2 separate regions of the Homo sapiens genome follow, and region 1 is linked to region 2. Evidence: promoter capture Hi-C in 16 types of primary human blood cells and fetal thymus (Javierre and others, 2016). All regions are on one chromosome and are shown on one strand. The core of a region is centred on a gene start or on the middle of the fragment in contact, and the rest is flanking DNA. Distances in the headings are between cores, read along the strand shown. Region 1 overlaps PTPRM (protein tyrosine phosphatase receptor type M). Region 2 holds the start of LAMA1 (laminin subunit alpha 1).

The links. Contacts are between HindIII fragments. The CHiCAGO score rates a contact against its expected background, and 5 or more counts as called.
Region 1: a fragment that was not itself captured here is called in contact with the fragment with the promoter of LAMA1 in region 2 in 1 of 17 cell types (M2 macrophages); the score reaches 5.1 in M2 macrophages.

The regions. Positions count from the first base shown.
Region 1 is chr18:8,391,612-8,394,848 of GRCh38, forward strand. It overlaps PTPRM (protein tyrosine phosphatase receptor type M), which reads left to right. Exons shown (of 33, transcript NM_001105244.2): 32 at 2,865-3,000. LOC124904241 (a long non-coding RNA gene) reads left to right here and starts at 3,013. Exons shown (of 2, transcript XR_007066275.1): 1 at 3,013-3,237. The HindIII fragment of the contact is 3,901 bases long and covers 1-3,237 here.
Region 2 is chr18:7,116,300-7,119,447 of GRCh38, forward strand. It overlaps LAMA1 (laminin subunit alpha 1), which reads right to left and starts at 1,498. Exons shown (of 63, transcript NM_005559.4): 1 at 1,361-1,498. The coding sequence starts at 1,421. The HindIII fragment of the contact is 7,316 bases long and covers 1-3,148 here.

The DNA.
Region 1 (3,237 bases), core at 387-2,886, 1.3 Mb after region 2:
TGAGGGAGCCTCTTGGGGACTGAACGTGGTTTGTATCTTGATCTGAATGGTGGTTACATGGTGTATGCATTGGTAAAAATTGACTGAGCTGTCTACTTACGGTCTTTATTGTAGGTATATTATACTTTAGTTAAAAAACTGATTCAGAATTTCATAATGGGCTGATCAAGCTGATATCCGAACACGATGATCTCTCTTAAAACCATAAAACAAGGGACAACCAGATATTTTTGGCTTGCTTCCTAATGAAAGTATACTTTAAGTATCCTTGTATAAATAAATCAATCTTGAATTCTTACCAAGCCCTGGAACTACCTACCGATTTACAGGAAATACAGAGTTAGAAAGCAGCATATTAAATAATATCACAGAGATGTGATGAATGAGAAAAATCTAGGATGTGGGACTCTCTACAGGACACAGATGAACTTGTTTCCTCAACAAATAAATTCTCAAGAAAAAAGAGAGAGCAAAGAGGAACTCACAGAGTAAAATAAATTTGCAAGACATACCAACCAAATCCAATCTGTGGACTTTGCCTAGATGTGGATTTTTTAAAAAGCATCTGTAAGAAACAATCTGAGAGTGGATTTTTTAAAAAAGCAGCTGTAAGAAACAATCTGGGAAACTGGAACACTGACTAGAAATTTGATAATTTTAAAACAGTAATGTTATTATTTTAGGTATGATAGTTATACTGTGTACTGTGTTTAAAAATAAAAAGGTCCCATGGCCGGGCGCGGTGGCTCACACCTGTAATCCCAGCACTTTGGGAGGCCGGGGCGGGCAGATCACTAGGTCAGGAGATTGAGACTATCCTGGCTAACACGGTGAAACCCCATCTCTACTAAAAAAATACAAAAAAATTAGCCGGGCATGGTGGCAGGTGCCTGTAGTCCCAGCTACTCGGGAGGCTGAGGCAGGAGAATGGCGTGAACCCAGGAGGCAGAGCTTGCAGTGAGCCAAGATCGCGCCACTGCACTCCAGCCTGGGTGACAGAGTGAGACTCCATCTCAAAAAAAAAAAAGGTCCCTTATCTCCTTGAGGAGAGAGTGACTGCAGAGTTGATGCAGGGATAGTGCGGGATGAGCCTGGACCATTATGTGGTTGCAGAGAGTAAAGAAATAAAACAGGCTGGGGACTTGTCAGAAAAGAACAAAAGAGCCAGCCTGACGGAGCTCCCACTGGCCAAAGCTGGAACAATGTGAACAAAATCAATATTAGTACCCTTGGATTTTAGCTGATAGAATAAAATTATTATGTATAAGCTCACACTGAAATAAACAAATCATAAAATAAATAAACAATAATAGGGAAGAAGAGACAGCTCTTTCTTAGTGTAGAATGTTGAAAGAGAGGGAAACAGGAAATCACCATTAGGCAAACACCACAGTGATAATTAATTGTTGCAGACAAGATCCACCAACGGATGCTCAAATCAGTGGGCGAGAAACAAAATATTTGCGTAGTCCCAAAATATCTTCCTCCCAGATATTTATTGACTGCAAAGAGAAAGATGATAACTTTATGGTGAGAAAATCTGGCAGACACCATCTTAACAAGTGAGCAAGTTAACATCACCAGTAATAAGACAGATGGACATCCTGAACCCCTGGGAGGAGGGAACATCCCCTCTCTGGTTTTCTTACCGAAATGCACGGCCTTGTTTCCAGTCATGAGAAGACATCAGACAAACCCAAATGAAGGGATGGTCTACATGTTATAGTTTGTGATGACTTCTCAGATTGCGGCTGGGGACGACAGCTACTTTCTACTTCTGTGTTCTACATTCTTTATATTCTACAAATCACTGATCAGTGCTCTTCAAAAGTGTCAAGGTCAGGAAATACAAGGAAAGACTGAAGGAAACTAAGGAGACAGGACAACTACATGCACGACTGGATCCTGGACCAGAAAAAGGACATTCGTGGAGGAACTAGTAAGATGTGACTACAGTCTGTGGTTTAGTTAATAGTATTGTCCCAGCATCACGTTCTTGGTTTGCATAATGCGCTGTGGGCAAGTAAGGTGTTCATATCAGGGAAGTTGGATATGCATTCTCTATGCTATTTTTACATTTCTGCACATCTAACATGGGTTCATAGTAAAAAGTTTTCTTTAAAAAGAGCCTCTATGTTTTATAGATAAATAATGAAATGCCAATGGATTTGTTGTTGTTGTTGTTGTTGTTGTTTGAGAGGGAGTCTCGCTCTGTTGCCCAGGCTGGAGTGCAGTAGCACAATCTCGGCTCACTGCAAGCTCCACCTCCCGGGTTCACGCCATTCTCCTGCCTCAGCCTCCCGAGTAGCTGGGACTACAAGCACCCGCCACCACGCCCGGCTAATTTTTTTTGTATTTTTTAGTAGCGATGGGGTTTCACCGTGTTTAGCCAGGAAGGTCTCGATCTCCTGACCTCGTGATCCACCCACCTTGGCCTCCCAAAGTGCTGGGATTACAGGTGTGAGTCACTGCGCCCAGCTGCTAATGGATGTTTTTAAAGGCCAGATACGTCTTTGAACGTAACCCGTACTTGTCACAGCAATTTTCCTGGCAGAACCTAAATAAGGTTCATTGAAAATTTTCTACCATGGGCCCTTATCGATGAATTGCTGTATCAGAGAATGTGACCAGGGCTGAGGTGAGCTGGGAAAGGCTCTGCAGTCAGGTGACCTGTGGCCAAACACTGCGGATGGCTTGCTCTGTTTGCTTTAATTAAAAGAATCTGCCCAGGTAAGAGGTCCCCCGGCCTCAGAGCCCTTTGTTGTTACTGTTCCCCAGGGTTTAGACAGCTTGTTTCCACAGGTGTTTGCAAGATGCAGTGTAAAGACAGACCGAGTGCAGTCATCTGATCTTTTTCACGACAGGAACGGGGGAGGCCGCAGTGGGACGTTCTGCGCCATCAGCATCGTATGTGAGATGCTCCGGCACCAGAGAACCGTGGATGTCTTTCACGCTGTGAAGACACTGAGGAACAACAAGCCCAACATGGTCGACCTCCTGGTAGGACACCCCCTCTGAGCTGTTCCATGAGACACCCCATTAGCATTAGAATCCACTCCAGCTCCCAGATTTGCAGGGAAACTGATGCGTAGAGGAAGAGACTCATTTTCAAAATCACAATGTAATCACTTTGCTTGTAGGGCTTTTTTCTTCTTTCTTGTTCTCCCTCTTCCTCTCTTTGTTCTTCACACGGAGACTTTGTCTCCAGCTCATTCGAAATGCGGAAATAGCTGAAAC
Region 2 (3,148 bases), core at 248-2,747:
CACCTTCAGCAGCCTGATAGACAGGAGTCCCCTCGCAATCCTTTAAGGCTCCTCTCCCTCCCCAAAGGCTCCTTTCTTCTGGCTGATAACTATGTAAATTCCCTCTTCCCAGCCTGGCTCTGCGCAGCAGACTCGCAGCTATTCAATGCTGCGTTTCCAGCTCCGGTCCAGTGCTTCCATCATGAATGCTTGAATGAATGAGATGGTCGCGTTTCTGCAGAGCTCACAACTCAGCACAATGCCCAAACACACGTTTCCCACGAGGGCACTGCAAATTCCGCCCACTACTTTTGACTCGAATTTTTTTTTAATGAAGTTTATATTCGTGGGAATACGCCCATTGTCATGTGCTGCATACATTAAGATGTTTTCAACAAATATTTGTGACTGCCTAGCCAACACGAAGCCACGCTGCGAAGACAGCTCTAGGGGTGGCGTGGGTGACTAGGGTTGTCCCCCAAAAGGGAAAAGAATTCTTTCTTTCTTTTTCTTTCTTTCTCTCTCTTTCTTTTCTCTTTCTCTCTCTCTTTCTTTCTTCTCTCTCTCTCTCTTTCCGCCCGCCCGCAAAAACAGAAAATGAAAATTCGCTCTGAGTTTCTCTTCTCAATCCTTGCAACGCGCATGCAAGGTGCTCCCTTCTCCGCTGGTCCCTCGCCCCGGCGCGCCCACGGTCAATCCCGCGCAGTGAATGAGCGGGTTTGGCCACTTCGCCTATTGCACAAAAAGCGCGGGTCGGGAAGGCGCATCAGTGCCCTGGACGCCGCCTGCGGGTCCCCCTGCCCGGGACGGCTGGCTAGGGGCGCCCTTCTCGCCGCGTCTCTCCCCACTAGCCCGCTTGGCTGCCAGGGGCCCCGAGGAATCCGCCCTTTCCCGGCCGCCGCGACCCAGCTTGCGCAGCCGGACAATGAGGGCGACTCGGGAGAGCTCTTTCTCCATTCATCCCCCGCGCCCGGCCAACAGCCCCGCCACCCCCGCCCGCGCAGCCGGGGCACTAAAAGCAACCCCCGGCGCCCCGCTCCGGGCGCCCCGCTCCCGCCACCCCCAGCACTGCTCGCGTAGATGGCGCTCCTGGGTCGCGAAGTCCCGCAAAAGCCAGAGGCGAGGCTGGGCTTTAACCCCAAAGCCCGAGGAGGTTAAAGCCTAAGCCTGCAAAGAGCGGGCAGCGTCCGGCAGGAGCGGCGTCCCCATCCAGCCCTCCCCGGCAAGCGCGGGAGACCCACGTGGCCGAGACACCCACTCCGAGGTGGATCAGGATGCGCGCCCGGACTCCAGCAGCCCCAACGCGACGGGCTTTGTCCGCGGCCGCCCCCGCCCGCCCGCCTGCGGGGGACAGGGACCCTAGGACCCGGGCCGGGCTCACCTCTCTGCCGGCACTGCGCGGCGACACACAGCAGCAAGACCAGGAGCACGCCCCCGCGCATCTCGCCTCCGCCGCCACTCGGTGGGTCTGGGGAGAAAGCCGCGCGCCCGCCTGGAACGCTCCACGGGACGCGAGTCCGCGCTGCCCTGGCCCCGCCGCTCCTGGAGTCCTGCCGCCCCTCCCTCCAGCCGCCCTCGGACACACCCCTCGGCTGCGCCCCGCCCCGCCCCGTCCCGCCCCGGCTTGGCCCCGCCACCCAGACCCCTCCCCCGGGGGCGCCCAGCTTGGCCTCTGGGTCCCGGCGCACGCGGACCCCAAGTCGGGGAGGCCGGGCTGACCGCGGCCGCCTCCCCGGCTCCGGGTAGGAGGTGGGCAGAGAAGGTGGGCTGAGGGGAGGAGAAACTGGGCTGCGGGGGTCCGGGAGGGTGGATTCCGAGAAACTATGTGCCCAGCTGACCCTGCCCGCCCCGCCGCGGCCCTGCAGTCCCCGGGCCAGGACCCACGCGCCCCTGCCAGGAGCTGGGCGAGAGGCGACCCCTCGGGAAGCCACCCAGGCTCGGCCGACCCGCCGCCCTTTCCGCCGTGGGCAGAGGACTTGAGGATTTTTTCTGAAAATGAGTTGCAACTTGTTCCCGACTTTGTTTGCCTAAAGAAGGCAAGGTCACTTGGACTTAATTATTATAATTAGATACCCTTACTGCTGGAGAGAGAGGACGCGCTCCTGACACGCAACTTCAACTGCTGTTATTATAATTATTATTATTTTAAAACTATGTCTGGTCCCCGATAAAGAATTTTTAATTTCCTCTGATTTTTTTTTTCTATCAAAAGTATTGGATGGGTGCAGTGGCTCACGCCTGTAATTCCAGCACTTTGGGAGGCCGAGGCGGGTGGATCACTTGAGGTCAGGAGTTCGAAACCAGCCTGGCCATCATGGTGAAACCTCGTCTCTACTAAAAACATACAAAAATTAGCTGGGTGTGGTGGCACGCGCTTGCAGTCCCAGCTACTTGGGAGGCTGAGGCAGGAGAATTGCTTGAACCCGGGAGTGGGAGGTTGCAGTGAGCTGAGATCACACCAGCTGCACTCCAGCCTGGGCGACAGAGCGAGACTCTGTCTCAAAAAAGAAAAAAAAGGTATTCATAACACTTTGTAGATTTCACATTTTCTCAATATAAATATACAGGGACAATATCTCATTATCATCCCACCATCTTATTTTGCAGGGTTTTTTTTTCTTGATAGGAAGATAATTTCCTCTCACTTGTGTGAATCTATTTGACAACTCTATCAATTCCTGTTTTTCTGAGGACACTTCCTTACACATCTAGTGAGTAGAACTTAGTTATAGTACTTAGCCATCGATTAATTTTTAAAAATCATGGAACAAAATGATAGTTTGGCCGTTTTAAAAGGATGCAATATAGTTCAGTGAATACTCCATACAGTACTAAATTTAAAATGCAGACGTTCGTAACTATTAAAATGTTACTAAGTAATTATTAAATAAGTAAACTTAGTATTTAATAAATGATCAAATATTATAGTATTAGGCACATAGCTATTAAAATGCAGAATTATAAGCATTTATGCACTGAAATAACTGCACACACAGACCTAGCATTCATATAGATTATCTTTTGGGATCTTCACAACTCTATGAGATGCTTGCCAGGAGATAAGGAAGTGAGTTCTCAGTGTCAGCAAATGTCTGGTCTAGAGCTAGACCCCATGTCTGGTTTCTAGTCCATAGTCCTTTACAACACCACGCTGAAATCACAGAGGATG